3 separate regions of the Homo sapiens genome follow, and all the other regions are linked to region 1. Evidence: promoter capture Hi-C in human tissues and cell types (Jung and others, 2019). All regions are on one chromosome and are shown on one strand. Each heading gives the region's core, a stretch centred on a gene start or on the middle of the fragment in contact. The rest is flanking DNA. Distances are from core to core; before and after follow the strand shown. Region 1 holds the start of WSCD2 (WSC domain containing 2). Region 2 has its middle 42 kb from the start of WSCD2. Region 3 overlaps WSCD2 (WSC domain containing 2).

The links. The method cuts DNA at HindIII sites, captures the fragments that hold promoters and counts their contacts. A contact is called where the count stands out against the background at its distance.
Region 2: a contact is called between a fragment that was not itself captured here and the fragment with the promoter of WSCD2 in region 1, in 2 of the 25 tissues and cell types used here (pancreas and thymus).
Region 3: a fragment that was not itself captured here is called in contact with the fragment with the promoter of WSCD2 in region 1 in 3 of the 25 tissues and cell types used here (dorsolateral prefrontal cortex, psoas muscle and spleen).

What each region holds. Positions count from the first base shown.
Region 1 is chr12:108,127,171-108,130,537 of GRCh38, reverse strand. It overlaps WSCD2 (WSC domain containing 2), which reads right to left and starts at 1,250. Exons shown (of 9, transcript NM_014653.4): 1 at 612-1,250. RefSeq lists a silencer at 940-1,029. The HindIII fragment of the contact is 5,452 bases long and covers 1-1,893 here.
Region 2 is chr12:108,085,181-108,088,547 of GRCh38, reverse strand. No RefSeq gene overlaps it. Among named protein-coding and RNA genes, the nearest start is that of WSCD2, 42 kb to the left of the region's middle. The HindIII fragment of the contact is 3,832 bases long and covers 1-3,367 here.
Region 3 is chr12:108,161,841-108,165,207 of GRCh38, reverse strand. The region is part of intron 1 of WSCD2 (WSC domain containing 2); the gene reads right to left. Among named protein-coding and RNA genes, the nearest start is that of WSCD2, 34 kb to the right of the region's middle. The HindIII fragment of the contact is 8,834 bases long and covers 1-3,367 here.

The DNA of each region.
Region 1 (3,367 bases), core at 1-2,500:
TTCCCTCTCTCTCTTTACACACACACACACACACACACACACACACACACACACACACACACCCCAGAATGGACATAAGCAAATCTGCAAGGCACCCTACACAAAGCCCATTGCCTGGGCAGCTCTGGCTGTTGGCATCAGATGACAGGCAGCCTTATTCACCAGAGTATCACCCCCAAGAAACATCTTCTACAGCCAACTTGGAAATATGACTAGCTCCCTCTCCCTTGGAACTCTGCACTGGCCAGAAAGAGGGTGATTCATAAATCAAATTTACGGGGCCCACTGCCTCCCCGCTGGCCCACCTCCGCGGGAGAAGCCCTTGAATGCATGCCTGTAGGGGGCACAGGAATGCCCAGAGGAAGGATGCCTGGATGAGCCGGAATGTCCCACCCTCTGCCAGAGGAGAGAAAGTTTGTCATCTACGCAGAGCTGGGCTGTCACCACTCTGGGTTCCTCACTCGCCGGGCTCTGGACGACGAGCCCCCAACCTGCGGGGAAGCGTCTGGAAAGCGAAGCCCAGATCTAGGGGCAGAAGACATTTCGCACCAGCTCCGCGCCCGGCTCCCTCCTGGAGCCCTCTTCCCAGGTCCAGGCACCTGAGTCCTTACCTGAAGGGTCTCCGCCACTTGCAAACTCTGCCAGCTGAGCTCAGCAGGCGCCCGGGGTCCCTCTCTGCGACTCCCGCGTCCCGCTTGGCGCGCCCGCTCTGTGGGCGCCTTCCCAGCTGCTGCAGTGGCTTTAAGGAAAGGGGAGCCTGGATTTCCTTTCTCGCCACCAAGGCTCCTCCTGCCGGGCCCTGGGGCTATTTCTCCAGGTCTGGCTCAAGGGGCATCCTCTGCGCCTCCAGCGGGAAAGTGGGATAGTGTGCGCCTTGAATTGCAGCAGCGGCGACAGCGGTGGCCGGGGACGAGGAGGCGGTGGCGACGCCAGCCGGCGAGCCAGGGAGGCGGGCGGAAGCGAGAGGAAGTGAAAGCCGGGCTCCTGTGAGCCTGGCGCTCGGGCGGGCGGCACTGCGGGTGCCCCGAGCCGCGGCGAGGCCCCGCGCGGGCACCCGCCCCGGGGATGGAGATGCCCGGGCCCGGTGCGCGCAGGGCACCGGCTGCGGCTCGGCGCGGAGCTCCGGCCGCCTGGCTCTCTCTCGCTGCCTCGCCGCTGCCTCCTTGGCTGCCTTGCTCGCTCCCCTGGACTTCACGTCTCCAGCCCTAGCTCCCGCGCCGCTGCCGCCGCCGCCACCAGCAGCGCGCCTCAGCCCGGCGCGCTCCTCGCACGGAGCCACAGCACTGCCTACCGCTTAACTCCTTGCATGCCACCTGGCCCTCCCGCAGCCTCCCGGGGAGCCGGGCATAGCCGGTGCCAGGCCGGCTGAGCATATCGGGCAGGGGCCTCAGCCTTCCGGCCTCAGTGTCCTCTTCTGTAAAATGGGTTCGAGACCCAAGCCCAAACCATAGGGTCGCTGGAAAAATTCACTGAGCGGATTACGCAAAGTGCCAAGCTGCCTGACATGGGGAGTATGCACCCCAAATGGCAGAGTGCTTGCTGCTGCTGCTACTGTTGTCGACCAAGAAGCTTAGCACGGTGCCTCACAAATAGTAAACACCCAATAAAGCGCAGTTTCGGTTTTTGGTATTTAGTTTGTAGTTTTAACAGGTGGTAAGTTTTAGCTGTGTAACCTCTGGGTGATCACTCGCCCTCTCTGAGCCTGTTGCTTTCCAATCTCTGTGACCTTGGGCAAGTCACAGCACCTCTCTGAACCTTTGTGTCCCCATCTGTAAAATGGGGACAGTAATGCCCGTAGTCAAAGAATTCCCAGAGAAGCTCTGGCAGAAGAGCCCTTCTCATGACGGGGCAGGGCATCTAACGGGAGCTGGACATCTTTTCTTTCTTGATCTGGCTGGTGGCTGCACAGGTGTTTGTGACAAGTCGTTGTACTGTACATTTACATATCAAGTGCTTTTCTGTACATGGGTTAAATCTTAACTGTTTTTTGTTTTTTTGTGTTTCTTTTTTTTTTTTTTTTTTGAGAGACCATTCTTGAGCAAAACAGAACTGGGTTCAAGCATGGGCTCTAGTACTTTCTGGTTGTGTCACCGTGACCAAGTTATTTCATCTTAAGGAGCCTCAGTTTCCTCATCCATAAAATGGGAACAATGATAATACCTACTGGATAGGTGATATAAGGATTAAAGGGTTTCAAGCAAAATGGCAGATATAAAGCTTGAGGCCTGAACTCAACCAGTATCTGCTGGTACTGATCACATATTCTACAGTATTATATATGTCCCATAGTAAGGGGTGTCTGGGAAATAACAAAGAGAACTGAATTTGAATCTCCTCAACAGTTGCCAGGTAAAATACAGGATGCCCAGTTAAATTTTTAGTATAAGTCTGAAATTTTACATGGGATATACTTTCACTATTTTTTTTACATTGTTTACTCAGAACCCAAATATAATTGGATGTCCTTTATTTTATTTTGCTGCATCTTGCAATCCTAACTCCATAATTACCAGCTGTATGTCCTAAAGTAAATGACTTAGCCTCTCTGGCCTTGGTTGCCCAATCGGTAAAATAGGACTAAAGATTTCTTCTAATGTTGACAAGAGAATGAAACTGATTAAAGTGGGTGGGTGTTCCCAGCAGCACATGTTAAGCCCTCCACATTTGTTCCGTACACTTCCTGTCAATCATCTCCCTCCCTCCTCTTCGGTTCTTCCTCTTTATCCCTACCTGTCTTGAGGTTGCCAGGGCTCTGCACAAGCATTGTTTAGCCCTCTTGCTGGCCTTCAAAACTAGCAGATTATAATTAGCCATAAAAAAATAAGCAGTAAAGTTAGGATTTTCATCTAAAACACACACACAATCAATTTTGCTAAGAAGGGATGAAGTCTGTTTTTTCTAGTCCTAACCATTGAGCACACTCTAATTTTTGCTAAGGGCTTGTGCTCCACCCCTATGTATCCCTGACATGATTTGTGTTTCAGGTTTCTGAGAGAAGCCTCATCCTCTCTCATTGCCTTTTATTTCAGCTCAGAATTTTATTGTTTCTGGCTGAAGTCTGTTGCAGGACTCACGGAGGAGGGAGAAGAAACAAAGCGATCTTTGAAATAAATTATAAAGAGCAAAACAGGGTGATGTAAGAGAGTTTCCGAGCAGTAAGATCCGCCGACACCTCCGAACTATGTTCATAAAACGAGTCACTACCCCATACATCACTGTCATTTGAACCACAGTGTCTAAAAATAGGATTTGCTCTAATTTCCTCAGTAGCTGGAGCAAGTGGAGAGAATGTGCGAGTAGTGAGTGGGCTGTGTCAGGCGGTAAGTAACTTCCCTTAGATGGTATTGCTCTATTGTGGAAAGAAGGG
Region 2 (3,367 bases), core at 340-2,839, 42 kb after region 1:
TTTTATTAGAGAATGGTATTAGTAACCAAGATCTGGGCATTAGGTGTTCTTCTTGCTACAGGGGTGTCTTTGCTTCTAGGCCCTCTCAGCTGACATATTTTCTTATGATCTGTGAATACACTCACTAACCTGTGTAAATACACATATCTATAAATATTTCTGTATGTAACCATCTGTATCCATATTAAGCTAAACATTGAGTTCATACTGATGTCCCCAGCTCTGATTCATCGCCATATGGATCATCTAGCTTCCTGCCCTGGCTTATCTGTAAACTCCCACTCCAACAGTGAGAAACATGACTTTCACCAACTTATATCCATTTACTTAATTCTTCAACTCTAGTATACATGTATAGCAGTGTCAGAATTGTTAACCTGTATTCCTGTGGGAAACAACTTTATCAACTAGAGTACAGTCCTTATGTACAGTTCCTTCTGCCTTTTGTCTTGCAGACTCCATTTATTTCCAAAGTTATGCCAGCACCTCCCGTCACACTCCCTTCAATGTGGTTGCTTCAGGCATTTGTCATACAGTTAGATTCTTTGTCATAGTCTGCTTTCCCTCCTGGGATCCCAGCTCCTTAAATAATTTTTTTAAATTGCATTCATTAAGCTTCACTCTTTGTGCTTGAAAGTTCTATGGGTTTTGATAAATACTTAATGTCTTGCATTCACAATTACAGTATGATACAGAATTTCATTACTTTCTTAAAAATCCATTTGCTCCACCTACTCATCCCTATACCCTCTCTCTAAATCCCTAGCATCAACTGCTCATTTTACTCTCTCTTGAGTTTTGTCTTTCCCAGAATGGGTGATGATGTTTTCAAGTGCTAATATTTATTAAATAGTATCACTGAGATTATGAAGAAATAGGCCTCTGTTATGCTACATGTTGCAGTTTGCTCATTCATAGCCTAAATGTCTTTTTTTAAAAAAGGAAAAGGGGTGCCTATTTTTTATTTCCAATCCAGCAAATTCCACATCTAAAAGTTTATCAAAAGTAAATCATTCTGAATGAGTACAATGATTTGCTATGAGGATGTTTATGGCAGTATTTTTTATTATCATGAAATCATCCATCAATTCAATAAATATTTAGTGTGTGCCTACCATGTGCTATTCACTATTTTAGGCACTGGAGATTATAACCTAACAAGAAAAGACAAAAATTCCTGCCTTCAAAAATCCAATATACCTCATAAAGCTTGTATCCTAGTAATTAAAGACAGACACACATATATGCATACATACATGCATGTATATATGCACACACACACATACATATTCTGATGATGGTAGGAGTAGGAAGAAAATAAGTCAGGGAAGGTCATTAGGCAATGCCTCTGTGGTTGGCAGGGTGATTTACCTCACTGCCCATGGAGTCCTTTGGGGATTAGAGAAACTCCAGGTGTCCTGAGCTACTTGTGGTGGCTAATGTGAAAAGTATAAAGGACAAAATTATTTCCGAGCATCTCCTGGCAGACAGTTGCAGTGAGGCTGTGAGCATTTGATGAGACAGAGAAGGAGGAAGGGGTGAGAGTTTTATGAGGAGCATACAGATCTCCTGAGGCATACTCCTCACCCCTGCCAGTGCTGACTAAAGCAGAGGACAGGGCATTTATCTGGAACATACAGAACTTTGGAGGTTCCTCTTGGCTGCAGAAAAACACCAGCCAGTCATTAAAAACAATGTGTTGATAAATACTTAATATGAAAAAATATTCATAATATATTTTACATGAGTAAAAAGCAACTAAAGACTGTATATACTATACGGGGATAGTTTGGTCACATAAAATATAAATACTTCTGTGTATATGAACATACAGAAAACATGAAATAGAATGTTGTCTTCAAATTGCCTCTTTTCCTTATACTCATGTAACAAACATGCACACGTACCCCCTGAATCTAAAGTAAAATAAAATTTTAAGAAATCAACTTGCAGAAAATTAGCACCTTGATTTTTCAATCTATAAATATGGCACACCACTTCATTTCTTTAATTCTTTATTAAGCTCTTTCCACAATACTATGATTTTTTTTTACTTTAACATTATTGCAAGTCTTTTGTTAAGTTCATTCCTAACTTTTCTGCGCTCATTAACACCAGTGTAAATAGAATTAATTAATTTCTGTTTCTAATAGTTTGTAGCAAGTATATACAATTGATTTTTGTATATTTTGCATATTAACATGGAATTATATATTCAATTTGTTTTTCCTATGATTATTTGTAGATTTTATAAATACTATCCATGGAAATAATCACATCATTTACAAATAGATTTTACTTAACTCATTCCTTTCCATCAGCATGCTATTAATATCTTTTCTTTTTGCCTTCTTGGATGATTATGGTCTCCAGTAAAATGTTAAATAGAAATGGTCCAGCCTGTCCTTGTTTTGCTAGTAAGGGGAGAACATTGAATATTCAATTATTAAGTATGGCATTACCTAAGGTATTTTACTGATGTCCCTTTTCAGATTGAGGAAAGTACATTCTCTTCCTAGTTTTCTGAGAGTTTTTCTAAATATTACAGATGAAAATTGTTTTGTTCAATGCTTTTCTTAAAATTGTATGTTTTTTTCCATTAATCTGATAATATCATGAGTTACAATTTTTATTTTTTATTTCTTTCTTTTTTTTTTTTTTTTTTGAGACAGAGTCTTGCTCTGTCTGTTGCCCAGGCTGAAGTGCAGTGGCGTGATCTCGGCTCACTGCAAGCTCTGCCTCCCAGGTTCACGCCATTCTCCTGCCTCAGCCTCCTGAGTAGCTGGGATTACAGGCACCTGCCACCACGCCCGGCTAATTTTTTTTGTATTTTTAGTAGAGAGGGGGTTTCACCGTGTTAGCCAAGATGGGTCTCGATCTCCTGACCTCGTGATCCGCTTGCCTCGGCCTCCCAAGTGCTGGGTTTACAGGTGTGAGCCACTGTGCCTGGCCTTATTTTTTATTTCTAAAGAAGTTCCCATTAGTCATTGCATTAGGTCGTTCTTGCATTGCTATAAAGAAATACCTGAGGCTGGGTAATTTATAAAGAAAAGAGATTTAATTGGCTCACAGTTCTGCAGGCTGTACAGGAAGCAATGTGCTGGCATCTGCTTGGCTTCTGAGGAGGCCTCAGGGAGATTTTATTCATTGTGGAAGGTGAAGCAGGAGCAGACATCTCACACGGTCAGAGCAGGAGCAAAAGAGAGAGTGGGAGGTGCTACAAACTTTTAAACAACCTGATCTCACGTGAACTCACTCATCACCAAGGAGATGGTGCTAAGCCATTCATGAGAAATCCACCCCCACGATCCAAACACCTCCCACCATGTCCCACTTCCAGTACTGAGGATTATATTTCAACATGAGA
Region 3 (3,367 bases), core at 339-2,838, 34 kb before region 1:
TAAAATCTGCCTCAACATACTTTACTGTAAATGGTCAAATTTGAAGCCCTTTAATCAGACCCTGCCAACCCACCACTCCTAAATCTTTTCCCTTGCCCTCTGATCCCTTAAAATTTGCTCCAGATCCCAAATTAGGGAGACAGATTTAAGCCTGACTTCTGTCTCCTTGCCAGCCAGGTTTACAATAAAGTCTTTCTTTTCTCAAAAACCAGTGCCATAGTCATTGGCTTTTATGTGCATCGGGCAGCAAGTCCATTTGCTGGTTAGCAAATGAGCCCACATGAAAAGGAGACTGGGTACCCCCTTTGTCCCCACCTTCTCCTACATCACATCTCTGAAACCCATCAGGTCAGATGAGGCTTTCCTGGACTGGGATGTGAGGAGTTATTGGGCCTCCTTGTCTCCTAAGCATTGTGACCCACACAATGTGGAGATGTGGGTAGATCTGTTGGAGAGAAAGCTGTTGCGGGCAAGGAAGGCATTCCTCAAGTTAGATTCAGGCTGGAGACTGGTGTTGTCCACTGAAGCGAAACATTCACATACCTAGGACCCTGCAATTCCACTCCTGGGTATACACCTACAAGAAATGAGTGCTTAAATCTCCCACAAGATTTGTACAAGAATGTCCCTAGCACCTCTGTTCATTAGGGTCCCAAACTGCAGAAAATCAGCCATGTGTCCTTCAAAAGGAGAAAGGATTAAAAATTGAATGAACAAGAAAGAAACCGCTGATATATGTGACATCGTGAATAAATCTCACGGATTTATAAAAATAACATCAAGCAAAGGAAGCCAGGCACAAAAGAAAAGACAGTACAAGATCCCATTCATATGAAGTTCAAGGACAGGCAAATTAATCTCTGGTGACAGGGGTATCAATTAGGAAGAAATGCAAAGAAACCTCTCTGGAGTGATAAGAATGGTCTGTATCTTGACCTTGGCAATGGTTCCATGGCTCTATAAGTTTGTAAAAATTTATTGATTTTGTACTTTACAGTATGTAAGGTATACCATTGTAGGACGTTTTCAAACATCCCCCTCTCTGAAAAAAAAAAAAAAAAAAAAAAAGGATTTAAGATTAAACAACAGTATAAATAAGTGAAGGGCTACAGGTCTAGTGGTAATGCCAACCACTCTGTCATGGGTCCTGGGCTGTAGAGAAGACAGTGACCCACTGGGATGTCAAAGGCAAGCCATCACTGATGCCACTATGTTTCACTCATTTATTCACTACCTTTCCAGGCATTCACTTATTCTTTTAGTATCTTTCCTTAATTTTTTTTATCCATGCTTAGTATATTAGTTTCCTGTGGCTGCAGTAACATATGACCACAAACTTACTAGCTTAAAAAAACATAAGTTCATTCTATTCAGTTCTGAAAATCAGAAGTGTAAAATCAAGATGTCTGCAGGGCTGGTTCCTGCTGGAGGCTTCAGGGAGAATCTGCTTCCTTGCTTTTTCAGCTTCTAGAAGCTGCCTGCATGCCTTGGCTCCTGGCCCCTCCCCTTCCTGCCTGCATTCCATCACTCCAACGTCTTCTATCATCGCATCTCCTGCTACTGACTCGGATCTTCCCTGCCTCCCTCTTATGAAGATCCTTGCGATGACAGTGGGACCACTTGGAGAATCCAGGATAATATCCCATCTCAAGATTCTTAACTCATTTACGTCTGCCAAGTACCTCTTACCATGCTTAAGGTACCATATTTGCAGGTTCCAGGGATTTGAACGTGGACAGGTTTGGTGGGGCAGAGGATGATTATTCAACCCACCACACTTAGAAAGAAGAATGGTATAGACTTTTTCTTTCTTTTTTAATTTTAATTTTTATTTTTTTTGAGACAAAGTCTTGCTCTGTCACCCAGGCTGGAGTGCAGTGGTGCAATCTCTGCTCACTGCAAGCTCCGCCTCCCAGGTTCATGCCATTCTCCAGCCTCAGCCTCCCAAGAAGCTGGGACTACAGGTGCCCGCCACCACGCCCAGCTAATTTTTTGTATTTTTAGTAGAGACGGGATTTCACCATGCTAGCCAGGAGGATGGTATAGACTTTTTACGAGCTCAGACTTGGAATCAGATCAGACCCATCTGGATTCAAATACTACTTATTAGTGGTATCACTTAGCTGATGACCTACCACTTATTAGCTTCATGTCCATAGGAATACGATTCAGCCTCTCTTGAAGCCCCAGTTTTCCTGCCTATACAATGAGGCATCACTCCACTTCCTCCAGGTTTTTGTGAGGAGTAAGTGAAGTGATGTTTAAGGCAGTTAACACAGAGGCTGGCACAAGATGCAGGCTCAACACACAGCCTGTGCATGTAGTGATATCTTATGAATGAATGATATTGATGGAAACAGCCATTTACCAAGTCCAGGGTACTTTGCTAACCAGGTCTGTCAGACTCCAGAATCCATCAGAAACTGTTCTGGAAGGGCCTCCAGGTCTGAGCAGAGGTCATTTGGAGAGAGAAAAGAGAAGGCCTTACTCCCAGCCCCTCCAGAAAATGGAGGAAATGCATTCTCCAGGATGCTCAGAAGAGGGTCTGAGCCCTGTTCCTCTCCCCAGGAGGGAATAAACATCCAAGCTTTTCTGGTGGCTGCCTGTCATTTATCAGAGATGGAATTTCCTTGGCACTTTGGGAAAAATAGATGCCAAGATGCAGAAAGAAATAGATTTTTTTCTTTCCCCCAGAAGTAGAACTTGGCTCATACATGTGTGGGGCACATTGATACAAATGGAATGAGAAAGCTCTGGGAGCCCTGGGGACTGAGGGTGTTGCTTGCATCTGAGTGTGAAATGGGTTGGGGGGCTGGGGATCCCCCAGCCCATTTTCCAAGGCATATGTGTTTGATTATTCCACCCGTGAGTCTGAAGGGGGCTTGGTGACTCCTCCCTATGAACAGGCAGGATTCCAAGAGCTTCCGGAGAGATGTGAGCCTGCAAGGAAGATGCTGAAGAAGCCCAAAGGAGGAAATGAGAACAACGTGGCCAACGTTGTCTTCAGGCTTGGAAGAGAATCTGAGGTCACAGTCCCTCTGCCGTCCTTCCTTTCCACCCTCACCAGTATTCTGTGGCCAAGGGCAGGCCTTAGCATGGACTGGCTACCATTTTACCCCATCTCTGCCACTTGGCTTCTGTGCAATGTTGGGCAAGCGACTTCTTCCCTCTGTGAGCCTCAGTGTCCCCATCTGTAAAGTGGGGAGGATGGTGATGCATGGGCCATGGTGAGGGCTTGAGATGACAGTGCACAGTGAAGCCACGGTAAAATCTGCATGTGAGGGGTCTCATTCGTTATTCTGATCAGGTGGAGCTTTTGTTTTACAGATAAGGGCACTGAGGGCCCAGAGTGGGAAAGCAACTCACC